2 separate regions of the Homo sapiens genome follow, and region 1 is linked to region 2. The links are contacts of gene promoters, found by promoter capture Hi-C in blood cells and fetal thymus (Javierre and others, 2016). All regions are on one chromosome and are shown on one strand. The core of a region is centred on a gene start or on the middle of the fragment in contact, and the rest is flanking DNA. Distances in the headings are between cores, read along the strand shown. Region 1 overlaps TSPEAR (thrombospondin type laminin G domain and EAR repeats). Region 2 holds the start of KRTAP12-1 (keratin associated protein 12-1).

Region 1 (6,596 bases), core at 768-3,267, 190 kb before region 2:
CCCATGTGAGACTGAAACTGGCTTCTCCCACTCTCAGCCCCAGTGACCTGCTCTGTAAGGCTGGTTATAGGTGTGGCTGCTGCCCCTGCCCAAATGCTTTAGGTTTCCCTCCTGGGATTCTCCTGCCCCTCTAAGCAGCTCTCCAGGGGACCCCATCCTGACAAAGAAAGCAGAAAATGGAGTTCCTGATGAGAAAAGAACTGTTCTGTGAGGAACACAAGTCCTTTTACATGATCGGGCACAGAGAGATGTGGAGAGGGGACAGGAGTCCTGTCCTTCTCCCTCTGAGCTGTGTGTTCATCTTCAGGAGCTGCGTGCGATGACCATGAGGAGCCACTAACTAACAAATCATGCCCACCGGATGCTGCAACCTGCACCACGTAGCTTAGCAGTGTTATTTCTGTGAGCCAGCGAGACTCCCGACAAGCAGCTTTGTGTCGGCCTGCTCCATGTCACCCTCTTTTGCCTTAAAAACCTGCCTATAATGAAGGCCAAAGAAAGCAAGCTCATGGCCGGGAAGCTCACAGCCAGGCGTACGTGGGTGTGAGTCTTCTGGGCTGCTGTCCTCACCCTGGCTCAAGTCAACTCTTTAAGTTAGACTTCATGCCTCAGCCTCTTCCTTTTAGGTGAACACTGATGGGAATACAGGAAGGGCCCCCATCCTTCCCTGTCTGAAGCTCAGACTCCGCATGAGAGGACTTCCCACTCCATCTCAGGATGGAGACAGCCTGCTGAGGATGCAGCTTTGTCCAATGAGGTCAGGAGGGCTGGTGGCAGCGTCTGTTAATTCCGTTGGGGCAGCCAGTGGCAACTGGCAGTTATTCCAGCTGAGGATGCTGGGATGGATTTTTTTTTTTTTTTTTTTTTTTTGAGACAGGGTCTTCCTCCGTCATCCAGGCTGGAGTGCAATGGCATGATCTCGACTCACTGCAGCCTCAACCTCCTGGGTTCAAGCAACTCTTCTGCCTCAGCCTCCCAAGAAGCTGGGATTACAGACGTGCACCACCAAGCCTGGCTAATTTTTGTATTAATAGAGGGTTTCACCGTGTTGGCCAGGCTGGTCTCGAACTCCTGACCTCGTGATCCTCTGCTTCGGCCTCCCAAATTGTGGGGATTACAGGCGTGAGCCACCGCACCTGGCCTGGGACGGAATTTTAAGTGAACTGCGGCCCTTAGCTCATGAGCCCAGCTTCGGTGTCTGATGAAACGACACCGCAGGGATGGGGGAGAGGGGAAGATTCGCAGGTCACGCCGAAACCTCTGGTTAGCCCCGGCTTCCACATCCTTCCCAAAATCTTTAGCCCAAGTGCCGCACAGCCCCTTTTGCATGTCTTCCCCACTCCTTGGTGGCAGAGGCCCCTGTTGGTAAAGCAACAATAGAGAAGTGGAGAAGATAAAGAGCTGTGAAAACTGCCCCAGAGAAGCTGCAAGAAGCTTTGCTGGAATCAGGTTTTGCATCTCCGAATCGGAGCTCCATTTGTTGGGTCGGGGACCATGCTTAGTGGTTCAAGAACTGACAGAAGAGGTGTTTGCAAAATGCTTGTTGGGAGGATAAACAGCTAAAGGAAATTTTATCTGAGCCTGAGAACCGCCTGCACCAGCACAAAAGTAAAGCCCCAGCGCCCTCGGGCCAGGCCTGCTGGAAAAATTCCCATGTGTCAGCCCCAGGAAGACGTGGGCAAGATGAGGCGTATCCTGACCAACGCAGGAAATGGCCCTGCTCTTCTGCTGGCCCCTCTTCCACCATCGAGGCCGCTCATCCAAGCGGCGGGAAGTAAGAGGGTCAACTTTTGCACGGCCATTGAGAGGTTTCCTGGAAACCTGGCTCTCTCCCCACCGTTGCCCCATGAGCATGGTGGTGACGAGCTTGGGCTCTGAGATCAGAAAGTCTCAAGTGTGAAACCTCAGTCTTCTTCCTTATTAGCTGTGAGACTTTGGGCAAATTACTTAACCTCTCTGAACCTTAGTTTCCTCAAACTGTAAAATGGGGCAAATGTTGGGTGACACTCAGCATAACGTCAGAAATAGTGCCCAATAAATGTTGATCTCATCGGCCCCACAGCCCATTCCGCCACTCTCTTCTTTCTCTTCCTCCCCACAACCCAATTTCATCATTGCCTACAAACAGCCACAGGATAGAACTCGGGACAGTTCGGGACAGCTCTGGACAGCCCAGAGGTTATTTACAAGTCTAAGAGCAATCAGTGTGTCCTGCCCAACTGCCCAGCTGTTTGAAAAGCACAGTAAGAAGCTGGTGCTGTCCATAAGCCACATAGCTTTCTAGGAATGACAGGGGTGTGGATTTACAAAGTCACTCTTGACCCTTTAAAATAACACAACTATTTTCTGCTCCCACCATATCTCAAGTGGCACCCAGATTGTGAGGCCTTCCATCCAGTGAGTAGTGTCAGCTGGAGAGGTGGTGACTGATTTAGGGCTCCGGTTTAGGGCTGAACCAGGGTCAGCTGCTTCTTTGTGTGTTGGTCCCCTTCTGCGGAAAGCAAAGGGATTGGACCAGATGATCGTGAAAGAACCTTCCGATGTTAAGATGTAGAGTTTCGATGGTTCCATGATAGAGAGGGATCACAGAAAAGCTCCACAAAGCTTAACCTCCCAGGGGGACAATTACAATAATGTGAAGTTAATGCTAACACAGGATAGTTTGATGTGGGTGTGACGGCATAGGGAGGTCGGGGGCCTGGAGGCTTCTCAGACTCATTCTCAGCACCAGATGTGGCATCAGGAACAGCCTGAAGGGAGGCTAAGGGATCCCGCCCTCTCCCCAGCTCTGAAGATGCCTCCACAGTGAAGAAGAGACAGGGAGCCCCCAACTCTGCACTTTCACTGGCTACTCCCACACTGCGGGGCAGGGGAGGAGGAAGACCCCAACACCTCCCACCACCGCTACAGACCCCGACCAAACGTCAGTTCTCACCTGCGCCACCGCCCCAACCACCCCTGAGAGCCATTAGGTGACAGTTGTGCTTCACCCGCAAAAGGTCTTCCTTTGCCAATTTTTGTCACAAGTTTTTGCATATTGTTTGCATAAATTTGCAGGTAGGATTCAAAAGGTCCTGATTCCAATTACACAAGAGAAAACACACTGACTGCAAGTGCAGTTGAAGAAGGTTCTCAGAAGGGCACGCTGGAACCGCTCCCCGGTGCCAGGAGAGGTGTTTGAACTACGTGCTGCTGGGGCGCCCAGACGGGCTTCCCCACGATCCAGGAAATCAGAGCTTTTGCAACGTTGGCTTGAAATCGTGGCTAACAAGACAGAAAAGTGCTCTTCTCAACCCCAGGGGAAGACTGGGGAGGTGGGCGGGGCCCCAGGGCCCACTGATTCCATCCAAGAGGGGGCATGGAAGGACAGCGGCGAGCCCACGTCTGGAGCTTCTCCCTCCTGTGAAAGGCAAACAGAATCCTGAGATGCCAAACTCACTGTTCCAAAGGGAAAGGGAAAGCTTGGAAATGGCGTCACGCAAAACCTGCCTCTCAGGAGAACCAGTCTGTTTCTGAACAGAGAGCTTGCAAGACGGCCGGCCATGTATCTCCCCGGGAGGCCTCCCACACTCTGACAGTGTCGATGAGCAGCTGATCCTCGCGAGTGTGGGACAAAAGACTAGGGCTTGCTTTTATTTTTGTTCAGGGACACAGAGCCAACACCACCAGCTACTAAAGGAATAAAACCACATCTTGCTTGTTTAAAGCAGTAAAGGAACAAAATTGCATAGGCCAGGAGGTGCTTTTGTGTCTCCAGCCGTGACTTCTGGTTAAACACTCGAGAAAAACACAGGCTTGGCTTTTTCTTCTTTTCTGTGTCTACTCTATCTGACGTCAGATGCAGGTTTGCTGAGTGCCAGGTGAGTGCCTAAAGGGCTGTTCCCCCACCTCCCCCTTTCACTTGCAACGTGCACTCAGTGCGTGCTAATTAAAGCCTCCCAGGAGCCTGACCACTGGCCTCATTGCCCACCCACCGTCTTCTCTCTCCCCCTTCCCCCTGCCCTCTCCTCTCCTCCTCTTTTAAATACTCAGCACCTCAAAATGCTCTCTGGAAAAGGCCTGGCCACAGGTCCTGCTGTGACTGGTGCCACTTTTTCCTGGGCAGATTCTCAACCTTGGCATCATAACCCTCTAAGCTGACTGAGACCTGGCTCAGACACTTTCAGTTTTGTGCTCCAAACACTGAGTGGTAACTTTACCCAGAAGTTCTTAGATTTTCAGCCACTCAAGCCAGGCTCTGATTTCCAAAATAAGTCCAGATCTAGAACAGTTTGGGGAATGAAGGGATCTGGCTGAGAGATGGGAGTTGGAACAGTTGCGACACCGTCAGCCTCACATGAACAGAAACAAATTACTCAAACAAGAGAAGAGCAAGGCCCAACTGGAAAAGCATGTGGGTGAGTCTGCAAACCAAAAAAGTACCCGACCCAGGCCTCGATCAATGGAGAAGTTTATTTTGCCAAGGCTAAGGATGCACCCAGGAGACAGGTCTGTGCCTCTCTCCCAAGATGATGTTGAAGGCTTCAGTCAAGGGGAAAAGCCGGCTGGAGGGGGCAGAGGGAGGAGGGTGTGGTCACATGACTGATTGCTCCATGCTGCAGGAGAAAAGGAGCAGGTGGGAACAGTCAGTTACCTGTTTATCTCGTGCTCAGTAAATTGGCACTTTCCATGAGATAAGGGGCACACAGAGCAGCCACTAGTGGAGATGCTGACCCTCTCATCTGCAGCTGTCTGCTTAGGGCAAAGGGAAAGGCAGCTTCCTGCAGGACTCAGCTTTCAGCTTTTTTCTTCTTGGTTGAGTGAATTGGGGTGTCGAGTTTTTAATCTTCCTTTCACAGGTGCTGACCCAATGAGGCCAATCATGTGTGATTGGGACCTTCTGAGTGACTTGGTGGAAAGCAGGGCCCAACCCTCCTGCCCAGGACGCTTGGGAAAGCCTTGCTGGCTGGACGGAGGGGAAGGAGGCTCTCGGCGACTGCCCCCAGAGGGGAGTGGCTCTCCACTGGCCACAGCGATGGCTGGAGTGAGACCTGAGCCCCGGAAAAACACGAAGGTCCCAAAGCCGGCAAAAGTAGACACTGAGTTTATTATTTGCCAGACAAGGGGAGGCTTCCATTTCATTACGAAAGGTCAGGAGTGCTCTCTGAGCTGAAGGTGAACAGACAGCTGCGGTGTAGGAAATAGGAAGTTTTGTCCACAGTTCTGATTGGCGGAAAAAGCACATTGTAAACTCTCTGAGGATCGCTCCTGTTCCGATTTGTGTTGCAGAAGCAGGAGCACCGTTCCTGGAAGACCGTGGCAGGTGTGGTCTGGGCTGCGTGGCCCCGGAGCCTGCTGTCTGAGCCTCTTCTCATGGAGTGGGGGTGGTTTCTCTGGCACCTACATGGGTTAAGAGGGAGGACCCCTGGGGCCTTGCGCCCATCACCCCCTCTCATCCTCACTGCCTGTGACGGACAGACAAGCAGCTCTCCCAGCTGCAGAGACAAGATGACCACAGGAGAGCCAGCAGAGGATGCTGTTACCAGGGAGCTAGGACAGCCAGCACACAGGCAGACGGAGGCACGCAGCCTGAGTCCCAGTCAGCTGGAGGACATGTGATTAAAATGCTGCTGAATAGGGAAAAAATCCCGGGCCCAGAAGTTGAGGTCCCTGTGGGTGGGGCCGTGGGGAGGGGGTGCGACCCAGGCCATGCCCAGGCTTGTGATTTCTGACCTCGCGCTAGTGCATTTACGGGTAAACTGAGGCTGGGAGGGAAGCCTCTCTCTGTATGGGGAGGTGGTCCTCTGTCCGTGTCCGTGGTGAGGGGCTGTGCCCACCCGCTGCCTAGAGAGGAGCACCGGTGCTTTTGTAAAGAGCAGTATAAATACACTTCCGTTCAGATAAAACACAATAAATAGGTGGCGGCAATGGCGGGACGGCACCACACCTGCTCAGGCGGCCGGACGCACACTGCAGGAGTGGCTGGCGAGAGGCCAGCCGCAGGGACATGAACCGAGGTCCTGTTGTTTGAGGTAAAAATGTATAGAAACGGTTCCTTGACAGCGAAATCCCCGCTTGACACTCAGATGGGCGAGCACTGGCAGGGGCTCTGGGCCTCTGCCTGCAAGACCAGACCGTCACTGGGGCTGTGGCTCAGAAGGACTCAGAGGTGGATGGATGTCCCTGCCCGAACCAGGGCCGCAGATGGCCCCACCTGCACCCTGCCTGATGCCCAGGCCCGGGATGCCCTAGGCTGGGCCCACCTGGACGTCCAGGGTCAGTTGGGGGAGGTGCTGGGGTCCCGCCCCACCTGGCCACCCCAGTTGCTGCCGGGCAGCCGCGGCCTCAGCGTGTCCTCAGCCGCAGGACCCTGGAGAGGGGCTCCTTGGCGCTGGAGTAGATGAGGTAGGCACCAGCCGTGGTGCTGAAGGCCTCCCAGTCCCTGCAGCCGACGGTGGGGAGGCTGTGCACCGCCACGAAGCCCTCGTAGCCCTGCCACCTGCGGAACAGACAGCGGCAGCCGGGTCAGCCTGGGCTCTGCGGGGCAGCTCCTCTCCCCCGGCTCCCACCCGCGCTGTCAGGGACCCAGCAGCTCTGGGTCACATCTGAGCCTCTTC
Region 2 (5,972 bases), core at 2,969-5,468:
AGCAATGTTGCCAGTAGTCAACCACAGAGCTGCCTGAAGTAGAGTATCGGCGGCATGGTCACAGTGGACGGAGGACTAACTTCCCATAGAGACAACTCTGGGCCACAGCGGTCACACTCGATAACTGACAGGCCCGCAGTATCTGTCGAGCGGACGGTGCTGCTGGTGGATGCGGGAGCTGCCATGGCGGCACGAGTAAGTGGAGGCATGTGTACATATGTCAAGGATGCCTATTTTTATCACTCCTATTGATATGGTTTGGATCTGTGTCCCCACCCAAACTTGAAATGTAATCCCCAGCGCTGGAGGTGGAGCCTGGTAGGAGGTGATTTGATCATGAGGGCCATTTCTCATGAATGGTTTAACACCATCCCTCTTGGTGGTATTGTCATGATAATCAGTTCTTGTGAGATCTGGTTGTTTAAAAGTGTGTGGCATCCTCACCCCACCCACACTGCTCCAGAATGTGAAGCACTGGTGCCCCTTTTGCCTTCTGCCATGACTGTAAGCTTCCTGAGGCCTCCCTAGAAGCAGAAGCCTCTATGGTTCCTGTATAGCCTGCAGAACCATAAGCCAATTAAACCTCTTTTCTTTATAAATTACCCAGTCTCAGGTATCTTTATAGCAATGTAAGAATGGACTAATACACCTATTCAACATAGTACTGGAAGTCCAATCCAGTGTAATCAGGTAAGAGATAGAAATAAAAGCTGTCCCAATTGGAAGAGAGGAAGTCAAATTGTCCCTCTTTGCACATGACATGATTTTATATTTAGAAAAATCTAAAGACTCCACCAAAAAACTATTAGAACTGATAAACAAATTTAGTAAAGTTGCAGGATACAAAATCAACATATAAAAATCAGTAGTGTTTCGATACACCAATAACAAACTAGCTGAAAAAGTAAGCAAAAAGGCAATCCATGAAGGCTAAAACAACTCCATCTTGGATGCTAATCTGCCATATGGACTTCTAGTTAACCTGTTCTGGGAAGGCCTCTAAAATTTCCAGTTTATCTACTGTTCCTTGTATAAGAGCACATACTATAAATCCTGCTTCAAAACAACCTTGACGTTATCCTACTTCAATTGGTCTACAGAGCCCTTCTAAATCACATATACCCTTTCCTTATGGTATATAAGCCTTGGGTCTGGAGGGGTAATGGCACAGGGATCCACCAGCTTATCTTACCACCACCCAAGACACAGACATGGCTTCTGTTTTAAGTCCTTATTAAATGTTTCTTTCTGAGAAACTGGATTTGTCAGCCTCTTTCTGTGGCCTCTCAGCTTCCTTGAACTTTGGGGGTAGGTTTGCATAGACCTGCCCATGGAACACAATCTCATTCACAATAGCTATTTTAAAAATAAAATACCTGGCAATAAATATAACCAAGGATGTGAAAGACCTCTGCAAAGAAAACTACAAAACACTGATAAAATAAATTGAAGAAGACACAAACAAATGGAAAGACATTCCATGTTCATGGATCAGAAGAAATGATATTGTTAGAAAGATCATACTATCCAAAGCAATCAACAGACTCAATGCAATCTCTATCAAAATGCCAATGACATGTTTCACAGAAGTAGAAAAAACAGTCCTAAAATTCATATGGAACCAAAAAGGACCCTGAATAGCCAAAGTTATCCTGAACAAAAAGAACAAACCTGTAGGTATCACACCGCTTGACTTCAAAATATATTACAAGGCTAAACAGCATAGTATTGGTATAAAACCAGACACATAGATCAATGGAACAGAATAGAGAACCCAGAAATAAATCCATATATTTACAGCCAATTGATTTTCAACAAAGGTGCCAAGAACATACAATAGAGAAAGGACACCCCTTCAATAAATGGTGCTGGGAAAACTGGATAGCCACATGCAGAAGAATGAAACTGGATCCCTACCTCTCATCATATACAGAAATCAACTCAAGATGTATCAAAGCCTTAAACATAAGACCGAAAACCATAAAGCTACTAGAAGAAAACATAAATGAAATGCTCCAGGACATTGGTCTAGGCAAACAGTTTATGGCTAAGACTACAAAAACACAGGCAACAAAAACCAAAATAGACAAATGAGATTATATTAAACTGAAAAGCTCTGCACAGCAAACGGAACAATCAACAGAGTGAAGAGACAACCTGTGTAATGGGAGAAAATATTTGTAAACTATGCATCTGACAAGTGACTAATATCCAGAATATGTAAGGAACTCAAACAACTCAACAACAACAACAAAACAAATAATTCCATTAATAAATGGGCAAAGCACCTGAATAGGCATCTCTCAAAAGAAGACATACAAATGGCCAACAGGTATATTAAAAAAAACTCAACATCACTAATCATCAGGGAACTTCAGATCAAAACTACAATGAGATAGCATCATCTTACCCCAATTAGAATGGCTATTATCAAAAAGACAAAAAATAACAGATGCTGGTAAAGATGTGGAGAAAAGGGAACTCTTATACATCATTTGTGGAAGTGTAAATTAGTACAGCCATTATCAAAAACGGTATACAGATTTCTCAGAAAACTAAAATAAAACTACCATACTATCCAGCAATCCTGCTACTATTTATTCAAAGGATAGGGAATTGGTGTATCAAAAAGATACCTGCACCCCCATGTTTATTGCAGCACTATTCACAATAGCCAAGATACAGATTCAACCTAAATGTCTATCAATAAATAAATGAATCAAGAAACTGTGGTATATATTTACAATGGAATCTTATTCGGCCATAAAAAAGAATGAAGTCCTGCCATTTGCAGCAACATGGATGGAACCGAAGGTCATTAAAGACAAATATTACATGTTCTCACTCACATGTGGGAGTTCACAAAGTTGATCTCATGGAAGTAGAGAGTAGAATGATATTACCAGAGGTGAAGAACGGTGTGTGTTAGAGGAGAAGTGAGTTTGGTTAATGGGTACAAACATACAGTTACACAGAAAGAATAAGTTCTAATATTTGATAGCAGCATAGGGTGACTACAGTTAACAATGTATTGTATGTCTCAAATCAGCTAGAAGAGAGAGTGTAAAATGTCCTCAACACAGAGAAATGATAGACAAGGTGATGAATATCCTGATTTCATCATTACGTATCCTCTGTGTGTAAAGTATTTCATATGCCCCATAAATATGTAAACATATTATGTATCAATTTTTAAAAAGTGCCATATGTAGATCAGTGATGGGAGTGTGTGCTGCAGAACTAATCCAGTTCTGTAAACCTGAGATCCTCCGCGACCCGGGAAGCAGGACATCCACCAACCACATGGGAAAGCCCGATCCTCAGTGCTCTGAGGCTTTGGCCATCAATGCAGGGCTTGCTGGCCTGGAGCAGGAGTGGACAGCCAGTGGGGAAGCGAGGCCACTCCACCACAGGCGGGTAAGTCACCGCTGTGGCCACTGCAGCTGGGCCCCAGGAGCCCTGGGAGAGACCACATGGGCATCTGCAGCCGCGCCCTCCACCCGGGACACCACCTTCTGATGAGCACTGGGTGAAGGGATCACTGAAGAGGGTTTAGCAGCAAATTCTATGTAATCAGCAGAATAGATAGCGGGGAGTATAGAAATAAAAAAGAGAGACAAGAAACGCAGAGTTGCATGGGGAAAGCTGGTTTATTTGACTCTCATGGGGTCAGAGAATGACTCTGGGACCCCAGACTTCCCTGGGGGGATAGGCAAGTTCAGCCAGGGCTCCAGATCATTCTATTATATTCTCGATCCAGAATTCAGAGGGTTCACTGAGCATGCTTTTCACCTGCACCATGTGCAGAAGACCAACTGAGGACTCATCCAGGGAGTGTACAGGTGTGGCCTCATCTGCACTGGGAGCAGCGGGTCTGGAGATTCATGCTCAGCAGCAGGAAGGGGTGCTGCAGGAGATGGGTCTGCAGAGGACGCTGGTGCAGGAAGGCTGGCAGCACCCAGAGGACTGGCAGGAGGGAGCCGCATACACGACGGGCCTGCAGCTCACGGGCACGCACACAGAGGACTGGCATCTCACGGGCACACACACGGCTGGCTTGAAGCTCACGGGCACGCACACGGAGGACTGGCAGCCCACGGGGATGTAACAGGATGCCTGGCAGGGGCTGGGCGCGCAGCAGGCTGGCTGGCAGCCCGAGGAGCAGCTGGTGTGGCACATGGTGGCGTGTGGCTGGATAAGGTCGAGGCAGAGGGCAGTGATGTCTGGGGATGGCCTCCCTGGGTAGCCTTTATACCTGGACCCAGGCATCCCCACAGCACAGAAGCACACACCTGTTGTCTTCCTTGTTTTTCTTCCTCAAGGCTGTTTCCTGGAACTCAGTTTTCTGTCGTAGATGATGTTTTTTATCTGGCCCTTTGTTTCGTGACTAATTGCACCCTCTTCAAGCTCTTGTTACATTTGGAAACCTGCCCAAATTTATCAGTGATGCACAGGCAGTTTTAGCTCCACCTGCCTGATATCTGCCTCCCTTCGTTAGTTCTACGCTGAAGCAGACATGAGTGGTACCCAAAAGAGCTCCTCGAACCGCAACTTCTGTTGCATCAACCAGAAACTTTGGGGAAGAGACCAGAACTGAATATAGACAATGAAATCATACTGGGGAACCTGCTGGAGTGAGTGATGCAAAGCTGGCTACTCTATCAACTATACAGTTGAGATTTAGGAGATGCTCGTTTTCAGGCAGCCGTCAACCAGCAGTGCAGACTGTGCTTCCTGAGAGAGAAGAAACTTAGGAGATAAACTCCCATTTCCCAGCTCTCTGCTGGGGCAGGCTTCCAAAATGCAGTGTCACCTTCCAAAATGCAGTGTCACCAGCCGGAGTCAGAGCAGAATACAGTGACCCAACTCTGCCGAGGAGGAAGGGGCCAGCGCTCAAGCAGCTGAAGCCCTGGAGTCCGAGGAGCAGAGAAGCGGAAAGAAGGATCCGTGTGGAGAGCAGGCCCCACACTGTGGAAGCTGACTGTGAATCTGTGGAACGGGGCAGGGCTGTGCATTCCCAGGGCAAGGCAACCACAGGCTCACCAGAGAGAAGCTGCTAGAGGATTGAGAGTGAAGCCCCCCTCCAGTCCCCACGTCGACATCCAGCCGAGACCCCCTACAGCCCGGCACCAAATGAGTAAGGACCACAGACTACAGTGAGACCCGCCTAGGCCAGCCCGAACAAAGCCTAAACCAATTCAGAATAGGATTTTTAGGGAAGACAGTTTGGAATGTGAGTCCCACCAAGATACAGAGTGTTCCAAGTTGTAGATGCTTCCCAGAGATCCACCCTAGCAAAGTGTTGAACAAAAACTGCACAAGATTAAGGTCATTCTCCAGTAACTGACGGCTAGAACAAAAATCAGAAACATGATACAGCTCAGAGTCTGTAAATGCATTATTATGATACCTCATACACAATCAAAATCATCAGATATTGACCAGGCACGGTTGTTTATGCCTGTAATCCCAGCACTTTGGGAGACCAAGATGGGAAGATTGCTTGAGGCTAGGAGTTTCAGACCAGCCTGGGCAACATAGTGAGACTCTGTCTCTACAAAAAAATGGTTAAAAATTAGCCAGACATGGTGGTGCATGCTTGTGGTCCCAGCTACACGGTAGGTTGAGGCAGGAGGGTCTATTGAGCCTGGGAGGTTGAGGATGCCATGAGTTATGATCACACCACTGCATTCCAGCCAGGGCAACAGAGCAAGACCCCGTCTCAAAAAACAAATCATCAGATATTAAAAGATATAGGTAAATTTAATTCACTGTTAAAAAAAATAAACCTGATATGGTCTAGATATTGGACATGGCAAATGATGACTGTAAGCAGCTATTATAGACATCTTCCAAAAAATCCAAGAAAACTGTTCAAATAATTAAAGGAAAACATTGTCTTCATGAATGGATAAATAGGGAATCTCAGTAGAGTAATTGAAGCTATTTTTTAAAATGGGAATCCTAGAACT

What was found. Contacts are between HindIII fragments. The CHiCAGO score rates a contact against its expected background, and 5 or more counts as called.
Region 1: a contact is called between a fragment that was not itself captured here and the fragment with the promoter of KRTAP12-1 in region 2, in 1 of 17 cell types (total CD8 T cells). The highest score is 6.1, in total CD8 T cells.

The regions. Positions count from the first base shown.
Region 1 is chr21:44,493,459-44,500,054 of GRCh38, forward strand. It overlaps TSPEAR (thrombospondin type laminin G domain and EAR repeats), which reads right to left. Exons shown (of 12, transcript NM_144991.3): 12 at 4,435-6,478. The coding sequence ends at 6,325. Among named protein-coding and RNA genes, the nearest start is that of TSPEAR-AS1, 9.3 kb to the right of the region's middle. The HindIII fragment of the contact is 1,170 bases long and covers 1,433-2,602 here.
Region 2 is chr21:44,677,945-44,683,916 of GRCh38, forward strand. It overlaps KRTAP12-1 (keratin associated protein 12-1), which reads right to left and starts at 4,219. Exons shown (of 1, transcript NM_181686.2): 1 at 3,632-4,219. The coding sequence starts at 4,179. The coding sequence ends at 3,889. The region is part of intron 1 of TSPEAR (thrombospondin type laminin G domain and EAR repeats); the gene reads right to left. It also overlaps the pseudogene IMMTP1. The HindIII fragment of the contact is 12,382 bases long and covers 508-5,972 here.